Regions from separate parts of the Homo sapiens genome. Here regions 2 and 3 are each linked to region 1. Evidence: promoter capture Hi-C in 16 types of primary human blood cells and fetal thymus (Javierre and others, 2016). All regions are on one chromosome and are shown on one strand. The core of a region is centred on a gene start or on the middle of the fragment in contact, and the rest is flanking DNA. Distances in the headings are between cores, read along the strand shown.

Region 1 (4,019 bases), core at 1,060-3,559:
TCCTGCTGGGAGTGGGGAGGGGGTGCCCCCTCCCCAGGCACGGCCCCTTACCGCACGCGGGGTGGCGGCTGCAGCTGGGACTCCGAGAGCCCTTGCGCCGCTCGCGGAGGGGCTCCCTTTTCCTGAGGGGTCCTCCCCGTCCCGCCTTGCCACTGGCGGGGTCTGCCTTCCTTGTAATCAACCCCAGGAAGGTGAGGGTCGTGGGTCGGGATTTCGAGTCCCGGACCGCCGGCGGCGCTGGGCTGCAGGCACGCCGCGGTGTTTTGGGTCCAGACCTGTCCCTGACGCGCTGTGTGTCCTAGGGCAAAGTGCTCACCCTCTCTGGGCTTCACATCGCTAGTTCTCAGAAAGAGAGCGCGAGTTGATCTTTCAAATTTAGAGTCCGGGCGAGTAGGGATGGCCAGTTTATGAATGTCTTAAAGAAGTTTATTAAAGGTGCGTGTGGGCATATTTTTTTTAAGCCACTTTCCTGGAAAGATTTTCCCGGTGAGAGGGATGGCAGAAGAGGGAGGCCCTACTAGACTTTGGACCACGTGGAGGTGGGGTGTTGGGGGTGGGCAGCCGGGTGCAGCCTGCCCGGCCAGGGCGAGGAGGTGCAAGTCCGCGCCCCGCCCCCGGTCTCCATCCGCTCGGCCTCGCGTCCGCCCACCGTGGAGCCCACAGTTTACAGAACTGCAAGCCAGGGCACATTTTATTGTTATTATTTTTTAGGGTATGGGACTGGAAGGGATCTCTTTCTGTTCTCGCTCACGGACTCTGGGCGCTGTTAAATTGTTGGTGCCATCGCCCCACCCAAGACCTTCGGGACGAAAACAAAAACCCCCGTGTGCCCCCCGAGGAAAAGGCCCCGAGGGAGGCGGCGCTGAGGCGTCACGGCCTCGCCATGCGCCCGGGTGAAGCCGCCGGAGCCAGGCCTGGGGGCGGAGTGGGGTGGGTGCAGCTGGACTCGCCCGCGAAGCCTAGCCGGAGCCAGGCCCCGACCCGCCCTGGCCGCCTCCAGAGAAACCCTGAGAAGGGAGAGGAGGCCAGCCGCGTGGCGCGCCCAGCCCTGGAGGCCAGGTCATCAAATTGACAAAGTTGGCCACAGCCTGGGGAATGGGGGGTGTCCACGGGGGCCGTGGTCTGGCCTTGTCCCCGGGCCACGGAGAGGCCCCACAACTCCTCTTGTCCTCGCCGGTTGGAGATCAAACGGCTGACAAGGCAGCTGCGTCCTTCCCAGTCTGACAGGCATTTCCAAGTCCTACCCTGGGCCGAGGAGCGCGGGGGGCGGGGTGTGACTTCCAGGTTGCTGTGATTGTCAGGGGCGCCTCCTGGAGTCACCCACCCGAGTATCTGCGGAGATTTGGCCACACCTACTCCTGGGCTGGCAAGTCCAAGTCCCTCTCCCACGTGGAGCGCCCCGGTCCCTTTACCCTCTCGCTTGCCATAGACCCAGTTTAGGAGGTGGGGTCGTGTTTGACCCCAGGAGTTAATCGGGGTAAGGTGAGGGGAGGGGACAAAGATTTGAGTGAAAATCCTTTTCCAAGTGGGACTCAAACAAGGTCTCAAACACTTCTCACCCCCTCACGTGCTCTTGATTCTGTTGTCTTAGTGTCGTTTATTTTGTCATCCTCACCCTCCCAGAGTCTGTAATACCAGGATTTATATGGAGACACTTTTTGGAAGTTGAACTCCAACATCTACTCCCCTCCCCTCGCCGCCCGCGACCATAAAACAAAAGTAAAAACTACCAAGCGACTTTTCCAGGGAAACGAAGCGATTCTTACTGTCCCCCCAACTCCCATGTCGACCCCAACCCTTTTCCACAGTCCACGCCCCCACCCCCAAAGTCCAAGTCCGAAAGAGCTTTTGGGTGGGTGGAGACTTGCATTGATTCAATTTAGTTCACTCACACAGCACCCCGCCCCCCTTCTCAGGGGGTCCTGCTCCCAGGATGGAGGAGATATAAGGACGATTTTTCTTTTATTTTAAAATAAGCTGCCCAGTGGCCCCCCCCAACCCCCTCCCGCTGTTGCGCAGCCGGGGCTCGGGGGAGATGAGCGCACAAAAACGCGGTTTGCACGTGTGTCCGGCTTGGGCTGCGGGTGTGCGCAACTGGCGACTGTGTGTGTGTGTGTGTGAGTGTGCGCGCGCGCGCGAGTGTGTCTCTGTGTGTGCTTTCTTGTTCTCTTACAGGGTACAATGTTAAAAAGCCACCGCTAGTCGCCCCCAGTGCTCCGACTCTCTGGGTCTTTTTGTCTCTAGTGCAGATTAAACGTCACGTCCGCACTTGAACTTGAATTTTATCCCATTGTACAGAGGCAGCCCCAGCCATAGAGAGACCGAGAGCTCCCAGAGAACCCGGACTCCGCCATCTTCACGTTGCAATCTATAGCTCCCAGTCTGCGCCCGCACCGACCCAGGCGCACTGGGCGAGCCGCCCCTCCGCCCCGCTCCCCCCGGGCCCGCGGCGCCAGGGGAGCGCTGGGGAGCGCTCGCGGGGACTCGGCAGCCCCTCCGGCCGGCGCCAGCCTGCCAGGTGAACTGGGAAGGAGCCTCTCCTGGTGTCCCCCCAGAGCCTCGGAAGGGTCAGTCTCCGAGAAAAAACAAAAACAAAAACAAAAACAGGCAGCCCGCAGAAAACCCAGAAACAACCGAACCGGGGCAGTTTTACATTGCTTTGGGTTTTTTGAGGGGGCGGGGTGAGGGGGTACGAGACAAGTCCCCAAGTTTTCTTTGCTTTTTTTTTTCCTTTGCTTTTTCTTCTTTTATTTTTTTATTTGTTTGCATTTTTTTTCCCCTCCTGGTAGAAGTGCGCTTTCCACCTACCAGACCCTGAAAGAAAGTGTCAGGAGCCGGTGCAAAACCCAGTTTAAGTTCAAGAAGACATTTGCAAGTGCAAGAGGCCAAGCAGTTTGAAGAAGTGTAAGAGATTTTTTTTCCTTCGAAAGAATATATTTTTAAAGAAACCAGCCAGTCCGCGGAAAGCAACAGCAGTTTTTTTTTTTTTTGCCTCTTTTTCTTATTTTAGATCGAGAGGTTTTTCTTGCTTTTCTTCCCTTTTTTTTCTTTTTGCAAACAAAACAAAAAACAGCATAGAAGAAAGAGCAAAATAAAGAAGAAGAAGAGGAGGAAGAGAGGGAAAGAGAGGAAGGGAAAAAAAACACCAACCCGGGCAGAGGAGGAGGTGCGGCGGCGGCGGCGGCGGCGGCAGCGGCGGCAGCGGCGCGGCGGCGGCTCGGACCCCCTCCCCCGGCTCCCCCCATCAGTGCAGCTCTCCGGGCGATGCCAGAATAGATGCCGGGGCAATGTCCCGCCGCAAACAGGGCAACCCGCAGCACTTGTCCCAGAGGGAGCTCATCACCCGTAAGTGTCTGCGGAGTGCGCGCGAGGGGCCGGAGATGGGGCTCCGGGCGTCTGGGGCTGGGGACACCGAGCCCGGAACAGCCGAGCCTGGCCAGGCGCCGGGGCCGCCCGCTGGCTGGCAGAGTCTACGGCGTCGGCCTGGAGCATGGCGGGGGGCGGGGGCCATAGGAAAGTTTCTTTGCAGCCCGGGGAGTTGGGGCGCCGAGCAGCCGGACGCGCCTCGGGCTCGGGGGCCTGCGGAGCCGGCTCCGGGCCGGGGAGGGGGCATGCAGGCTGGAGGAGTGTGTGTGTGTGCGCGCCGAGCCCGGCTGGACGCTCGCCCCTCCGAGCGGCGTGTGTGGCGGCGGCGGCGCTGGTGGCGGGGTTTGGAGAGGAGGGGGAGGGGGCTGGGGGAGCGGAGGGGGAGGGGGAGCCGGGAAGTGGGGAAAAGTTGGCGAGCGCGTGGGTCCGCGCTGACGGCGCGGGCGGAGGAGAGCGGGGTGCGTTCCGGCTGGGGGAGCCGTAGGGCCAGGGGCGGCCGCCGGCTCCGGGTCCCCGGTCCCTGCGCCCGGCCCAGCAGGGTGCCGGCCGCGCCAGTCCTAGGATTCCGCAGCCGCCTTTCTCTCCCCTCCTCCTGCTATTTGCAAAATAATCCAGCTGCGCGGCTGTTTGCCGGGCTCAAGCCCCCCTCCCCA
Region 2 (4,019 bases), core at 197-2,696, 1.1 Mb after region 1:
TTGGGAGGTGTAGCCTAATGGAAAGTGTTTAGGTCATGAGGTCTCTGCCCTCATTAATAAATTAATGCTTCTATACAAAAGGATTGCAGGAATGAGTTTGCCCTTCTCTTCTGCTCTTGGATCATGTGAGGACACAGAGTTCCTTTCCCTGAAAATGCACCAACGAGGCACCACCTTGGAAGTGGAGACCAGGCCCTTAACAGACACCAAACCTATAGGAATCTTGATGTTGGATCTCCCAGCCTCCAAAACTGTGAGAAATAGATTTATGTTCTTTATAAATCACCCAGTCTGTGGTGCTCTATTATAGCAGCACAAAACAGACTAAGATAGCAGGTACATACGGACAAACGGTATATGATTGTACACAGGTGAACATGTACTTAAACAGAATATGGTAGTGCACAAGCAAACACATGCATAAACAGTACGTAGTCACACACAGGCTAATGCATACATAGGCCAGATCATTTCCCACATTGGCAGTACTATGAAGGGGATGAAGATGGGCTCAGAGGATCGGGAGTGGATAGAGGTCCAGGGCAGTAAGAGCCACTGTAGATGAGGTGGTCAGGGAAGGTGTCCCTGAAAAGATTCCACCTGAACTGACACCAAAGGGCAGGGGTGGGCAGCGATGAAAAGGGCCCCTCTCTCAGGCAGGGAGCAGCAAATTCATTATCATTGAGGCAGGACGCAGCTTAGCATTGCTCAGGACAATATGATCAGTGTGGCTGGAGATCAGTGCACTTTCGGAGGTGACATGGATTGAGGTTAGGAAGACTAGCAGGTGTTGACTCCTCCAGGTCTTAATTTATAAGGGTAGCAGATCTGATAGGCTACTTGTGATGTGGTGAGCGCCCCATCAACTGGGCAATGGAAAGAGGGGCTGGGTGACCACTGATCAGCAATGTCGGAAGTGGGAGAGAGTGAGGAAGAAATTGAAGTGGAATGCTTTAAAGCACTGTCCGTCTTTGACATCAAGACACTCACTTTGCTGAGCTCAGAGACATCTGAAGTTTAATCACCTGCAGATTTGATTGAATGTATTTTGCCAATATTGAGGGACAGCCACCATGAGGAGAAGTGCCAGTGCAGCTGCCAACTGAGGAGAGGCCAGGACCTCAGTACCATGGATACAGCAAATGTGGACAGAGCCAGTGCCGTGGCTCATTTAGAGCCAGATGTGAAAGGCAGCTGGCTGTGCCTCCTTGCTTTGACTGCTGAAAACCATAAATAAATACATGTAAAAAGTTGGATGTTAGCTCTGTCATTATTTTACAATGATGATAGGACGTTAGAATATGAATGCAGTTTGAAAGATAGCACTGTCTTTGATACATCAAAAAGCCCTCTCCACTTGACTAGAACTTTGGAGGGACGCTACTAGGATAAACTCCTCCCTGCCTGTTCTCCTGATGTTGTATTACGATGACAGAAGCTCTCAATGTATCAACTTAATTTCAGTTCAAAAACCGTCTTAGTTCTGCCCTAGTGAAGTCAAATGGAGTTTTATCATTTTTTCTTGGGCATAAGATGCTCAATTTTCCAGAGGGAAAAAATGCAGAATGGAGCTGAAAATGTAATCATATTTGGGAGAAATGGGTAATCATATTCTTGTGGTATTAAAGACTTCTCTAAGAAAACTCTGCTACCAAGAATGGGGTCACAGGGTTGAGAATCCATCTGACACTGTGGAAGAAAGGCAATGTTATCCCTATCTACATTTCCAGAATCTGATATCTATTTTCTCCCCATTCGCTTGCCCATGGTATGGCTACATCTGCATCTATACAGTGGATTTTCCATCTACTCATCCTTCTTTGATCAGAGCTCAACCTCTGTGAGCTTTGATTTCCAATTCCTAGAATAGAGACAGGGTACTTGCCCCTGAGCCCCTCAATACCCGGTGACTGAATTCCCTCTGTTTTGGCTTTCGTGACACTGTCCAGGTACACTCCCCTTTAATGGAGACTTCTGAGTCTGCTCTGGTTCTAGAAAGGCAGTCTAAGTTAATTTCCACAATTTTCATTGTATTGGCAAAGAACTTGAGGCTTTGTTGTTCAAGAAACTTCCCAGTATCTATTAAGGGGCAGATCTATTTATCAAACCCAGACTTACAGATGCCAGTGTCCAGGCTTTGCCCTGTTCCCCATAATTGCCCCTAAGAACCATCTGTAGCACATCTGAGATGGAGCCACGGAGTCCTAGTCTGGCCTCCTGGAATCCACCCACTCCTGTCTGGGGAGCTGCCTGCCCTTTGCTGGCCCTTCTGATGAAGGCTCCACTCCATCTGGTGAGACCTGGGAGCCTCTGGTCCGGTTACCAGCTAGCCCTCCCATCTCCCATATCTTGAAGTCTGCTGGGAGGGAGGACTCGGGTAATAACCACGCTAATGACAAAGCGCTAACTGAAGACCCCAGTAACCTCTTGGTTTCCTCCCTTCCCATGGCCGTGGCATAATGAAGCCGGGCAGGCACTTGGGGAGTAATCGGATCCAGCTCAGGGTTAGCTAAGAGGTGGTTTGTGGTCAGGTGTCCAACAGATGGGTTCAAATTACCTGACTTTAATTTCAAGTAATTGGTGAGCTGGATTACCCTCCAGCTCAGGGGACCTGGAACTATATGTCTTTTACTATCAGCCCTGAAGGAAAAGGAGAGTCTGCTCCATGGGGGTGGTGAGGGTAGGGGTGGGAAAGGCCAGGGTCCGGACACAGGGGTATCCAAATGATTCCAGAGGCTGGGCCAGAGTCCCTCAACCTTCAAGGAAGTTTTCTAATGATAGGTTAAGATTCTATTGCAGAACTTGCAAAGACTTCTCTCCAGATGATGGAAGAGAGTTAAAATCATAAAGGGTGAGATTTGGTTATGTAATTCTCTCTCTTCTGGTTTTTTTTTTTGTTGTTGTTTTGTTTAATTACCAATATGTTTATGCAAATGCACATATTTCCAAATGCTTGTTTAGTCTGCTTGTGCATCTATTTATACTCTTAATAATCACTAGACTTTACTGGGGATGTCCAGGCACTTGGCTAATTGTTTTACATGTCAGAGCTTCTCCAATGTTCCAATGACCCTTATGGGGTAGAGACTCACAGCTATCACTTTACAGATGTGAATAGTGATAGTGAAAGGGGTGGATGGGCCTGCCCCTGGTCCATGGTTCCTCATGGAGAGCTGGATCTCAGCACAGTAAACCACCTCAAAGGCTCCATCCCTTTGTCTCTGCTGAGTGCAAGCTCTTCAACTCCTCTCAGGAAGATGACAAGGACTTTCATCCCAACGCCTCCACTCCTGCTCTCTCCCTAGTCTCTTCATCTTGTGTTCATTCATTTATTTATTCTTGCAAAAATCACATCCCCAAGTCTGTATTTAGCCTGTGCTTGACCTATATTAGACATTCAATAAACATTTTGAGGGTGAATCAATGAACACGAATGCAAGGGTTAATAAGACAGGGCTCTTCCATCAACAGGTTATGCATACCTGGTGAGAACAAAACTATAAACACATCCACGCACACCAAGATGGTAATTTCACAATATATAGTGATAAAAAGAATTGTGAGAAAAAAATGAAGCCACATTTGCAAAAAAGTGAAGTGCCTTACACAGCATTGGGTGCATATGTAATAAGTGGTCAGTGAGCAGGCTGGGTAGCTTCCCCAGTTGACTATTGTTTCCACAGGTGGGACATGTTTGCGTGTGCATATGTGTGTGTGTGTGTGTGTGTGTGCATGTGCATATATGTGTGTTTGTGTGAACAAATCTGTGCATGTATGTGTATGAGTGTTTGCCGTGTCTTTAATCTTCTGCGTTTTCAGCTGCTGGTCCATGCCTGGTCATATTCTTGGTACTCAGATTATGATGGATGTTTAAATAAATAAAAAACAAGGCCTGAGACCAAGTGAAGAGGCAGTTAAAATGTCACCCCAAAGCTTCCTGAGGGCTCTTGAAAGGCGGTCTGAGTTATTTTGTATTCTGTATTTGTGCTAAGAAGTGCTGTCTGACAGAGCATCTGGGA
Region 3 (4,019 bases), core at 854-3,353, 1.1 Mb after region 1:
ATGTCCTAGATCACTTCTTCTCCAAACTTCAACTTAGACTGACTTCCACCAACAGCCCACCACCCCGGGGGCCTGCCTTTACAAAAGCGTGGTGGCCGGTCACAGTCAGTGCCCTGGAAATGATCAGAACTACTGCTGGGTACATGCCCTGAGAGATGCTCAGAGCCCATCCTCTCCTCCAGGAGCAGCCCATCTGACCCCTGTGTGAATCGGGCCAAGACACTTACTAGGCTCTCATACCCTTTGCTTTAGAAGCCGGCTGACTAAGTGTTATCAATTCATACTGAAATTTACACTCGCCTCCTCGCTCTGTTCCCATCAAACACTGTGGAACATTTTGTCCTCTGTTCTCAAGCAAAAGAATGGTCCCTGCGTACCTCCTAGATGGTGATGCTGGGTATCACATGTGGGCCAAAGGAAGCCTGGGAGGGTCTGGTTTTCTCAATGTGGAGATGTGTCCCCTGTCTAGTGCTTTCTGAGAGAGTCCATGAGGTCAGGCACAGCTGGAGTCTCTAGGCAAGTACATGAGTCCAGAGACTCATGTAACTCTGTGCAAGTCCAGAGTTGAGGTCCCTTCCCAACTCCCCTGCCAAAGTGAACCTGGGGAATATCTTCAAGGAGAAGGGCACATTGTTTTGTTGGTGGTTTACCCTCAATCGTTGTCATATTCAGTCTCTAGGAGTGAATTGCTGAAGAAGAGTGACCAAACTTAAGGCAGAAGGAAGATAAGCCTGTGACCGTTGGTGGGATCTCTGGCTTTATCAGCGTGGCTGACATTCTCAGACTCTAATGGGATTCCCGGATATTGTATGGAATGCCTTACCTTGGATCATGGTTCCAATTCACCATCATTCCTTCATTTATTCAAATTTGATTGAGCACCTGCTATGCCTCAACCTCTTTTTAGGTATTCAGAGTACATTAATGAACACAATAGATAAAGGTCTCTGCCCTAGTGAACTGAGACATAAAAAGCAGTAACAGAACAAACTGGTGCATTATATAGCAGAGTTCAGACATGCTAAAGACAAACAAAAATAGGAAAAATAGTGCTGACCAAGGGAGTGTATCGTGTATATGGACTGATTAGCCAAAAAAAAAAAAAAAAAAAATTAGAGAAGCAGTTAAGAGGCAATGGCTCAGGGCATGGGCTCTGACAATGGGATTCCTGGTTTTTAGCCTTGGCACTAGCACTTTCTAGGCAGGCGACCACGGAAAAATGACTTAACCTCTCTCAGTTTCTGCATCTATAAAAGGAAAATAACAATATGTCTTCTTCACAGAGGTGCAGTGAGGGTTCATTGAGAAAGGTGCCCGGCACACACAAAGTGTTCAGTGAATGTGTTAACTCTTTATTATTCACATGCCCGTGTTGTAATTGAGAAGACAGAGACCCAGAGAAGGGGAGCAGCTTCCCCAGAGGGCAGGCAAGGCAGGACCTGAGCTCAAAGGCAAGCAAGGGAGAACTTGGGATAATCATATTTAATCATAAACAACAATGGCTGTATCTGCAAATCCTCTGTGTCTTTTCAATAGTGTTTGGAAGAATCCCCTCTGCCTACTCCCTTTGCTCCCAGGCACTGACCAGACATCTTGGTGGCATGTCCAGGGGTCATCTCTTAGGAACCTCAATGAATGTCACTTGACCAGTCAACCAGTCGATCGGGTCAGCTGCAGCCCTCACACATGGCACAGTCAGTGTTTCCTCCCACGCCCTGGCTTTGCTGTGAAGCAAGGACAGCCGCCTGCTGATTAGCATCCACATGCCCTTATGCATAATTGAAGACATGTTAAGTCACCCAACTGAGTTCTCTTCCCCAGACCACATGGTTCCAGAGCACTGAGTTCCCAGAGGCCACTTTTTAAAGCTTTTATCTTGTCTATCACTCCTAGACTCTTCTCCTTTCTTACCCCTCTTTGAAGGACATGCACTAGGTAAAAGGCAAGAGGCTGCTACAGGAGAGAAGGGGAGAAAGAGGGAAACAGGAAGGGAATCACTCCTTTCAGGCTACTCCCTGCATCTCTAGATGAGACTACAGGGAGAGAGTGAATCCAAGGACAGACAGACCAGAGATTTTCTCTTCAACCCTCTGATTTGGATTGTCACTTGCTTTCACATCCCTCTGGCATTAGCATTGCCTGGGGGTCAGGATCTCTGTAAATGTTAGAAAAGATGGTAGGTGCTTTGCTCATCCCAATACTTCCTCCATCCATCCACCTCACTGAGTATCTTCTATGTTCTGGGTTCTGTGGCCCTGAGAAAACACAAAAAACTAGAACAAGGCAGCATAGAGACAACCACAGGGAGCCCAAAACCACAGCAAGGGCAGTAAGCTTTGACCATGGGGAGAGACAGTCAGACAGGGATGTGTAGAGGAGGAAAAGTGTGAGGTTGCAACGAATGGACGAGAAAGAGCCAAACGTAAAATGAGGAGTACAGATGGAGCCATGTGTGCAAAGATACAAAGGTGAGCAGAACTGAGGCACGCACGTGAGCTTGGAACAGAGTGAAGAGAGACAATGGCAGGGACCGAGAGGCAGGGCCTGGATAATGAAGGGATTTGGAAGAAACAGAGAGCAGTTTGGGTTCTATTCAGAGTGAACAGGGAGACTTTGAAGGGGTTTCAGGGGGAAAGGGAGAGGATGGGTTTTGTATTTTGCAGAGATTACTCTGGCTATAGTATGGATAATGGAGCAGAGGGTAACAAGAAAAGGGGAAGGAAAACCTCACAGAATCCCTTCACAAACCTCAAGGGAGGGTATGATGGTGACCTGAGTGAAAGCAACCCCCGTTTGGATGGAGAGGGAAGGTTTGATAACAGGGACATTTATGGTGGTCATCATAGAAATTGACTACTTATATCAGTCAGATAAGTCTATGTTAGAATAACAAACAATCCCCAAATCACAGTGGTTCACAGAGAGGCAGGGTTATTTGTAACATATATTGTTGTTCATCAAGGAATCACAGGAATTCTGTGGCTCTGTGATGTGTCCTCTTCATCTGGACAGGCTGGTCTCCCAGAAGGGGAAAATGAAGGAGAGCAGAACTACACAGGGATTCTAGCAACTTCTGTCCATAAGCTGCACCCACCACCTCGACTCATATTCGACTGGCCAAAGCAAGTCACAAGGTCAAGGCTGACATTACTGTGGCGGGAAGTAGTGTGTTTCTGCAAGGGACAGAAAATGTGTTCAGAGTAGTACTGTCTATCCTCATCTGCCCGCTTGGTCTCTAGTATTCACCTTCCTCCTTTGCTCATGTACAAGATGCTCACTCCTTCCTAAAGAAAGACAAAAGTCCTATCCAATCCATCTTGGACTCAAAATCCAGAATGTCATCTTTGTCTCTATATAAAGTCTGGAGACTGCCCTCTCCCATCTGAAGTCCCATAAAATAAAAATGTGAGTTAGTTGTGATCTCACCACCACCCCCAAATACAAAGGTGCTATGGGGACAAGGGAAGAACAAAAGCAAGAGGACTCCTATTTAAGAAGGGAAGAGTAAGCAGCACACAGTGCCCGCCAGTCTTTAGCAATTCTGAAACCCAGACAGACATGATGAGGATTCCCCACTTTGGAGTGGGGGGATGTCCTGGATGAGGCTCAAGCTCTCCTCCCTGGGATCATTTCCCAGTTCATCATCCTCCATGGCTCTTAGAGGGCAAATCATGTGTTTAGAGGTAGGGTCAGGGAGGTGGAATTAAGAGTTAAATTTTGGTAGCATGTTAATACAGGAGGCTCTTTGCTAGTTTAGATCATATATGTGAGTGGAGTGTGTGTTTGTATGGGAGTGATTCTGTGTGTGTGTGTGTGTGTGTGTGTATGTATGTGATGCCTTTCCTTCCTACATTACATTTGATTTACTTTTTCATAATTCTAACCTTTGTTTAGATATTGACAGGCTCTTGATCTCCCTTCAGCATTGCATGTGAGCATCAAGAGCTCCTTTCTCCCCACAAGGAAGAATTTGATCACCAGTCTTTCAGAACAGCACTTTAAAGACCACCTTGGTCTAA

Evidence for each region. Contacts are between HindIII fragments. The CHiCAGO score rates a contact against its expected background, and 5 or more counts as called.
Region 2: a fragment that was not itself captured here is called in contact with the fragment with the promoter of BCL11B in region 1 in 2 of 17 cell types (fetal thymus and non-activated CD4 T cells); the score reaches 9.6 in fetal thymus.
Region 3: a fragment that was not itself captured here is called in contact with the fragment with the promoter of BCL11B in region 1 in 1 of 17 cell types (non-activated CD4 T cells); the score reaches 7.0 in non-activated CD4 T cells.

The regions. Positions count from the first base shown.
Region 1 is chr14:99,270,487-99,274,505 of GRCh38, reverse strand. BCL11B (BCL11 transcription factor B) reads left to right here and starts at 2,309. Exons shown (of 4, transcript NM_138576.4): 1 at 2,309-3,345. The coding sequence starts at 3,288. RefSeq lists silencers at 1-98, 2,383-2,462. The HindIII fragment of the contact is 13,366 bases long and covers 1-4,019 here.
Region 2 is chr14:98,199,230-98,203,248 of GRCh38, reverse strand. It overlaps LOC107987207 (a long non-coding RNA gene), which reads left to right. Exons shown (of 2, transcript XR_001750875.2): 2 at 82-1,256. Among named protein-coding and RNA genes, the nearest start is that of LINC02295, 65 kb to the right of the region's middle. The HindIII fragment of the contact is 4,979 bases long and covers 1-3,935 here.
Region 3 is chr14:98,216,139-98,220,157 of GRCh38, reverse strand. The region is part of intron 1 of LOC105370656 (a long non-coding RNA gene); the gene reads right to left. Among named protein-coding and RNA genes, the nearest start is that of LINC02295, 82 kb to the right of the region's middle. The HindIII fragment of the contact is 466 bases long and covers 1,871-2,336 here.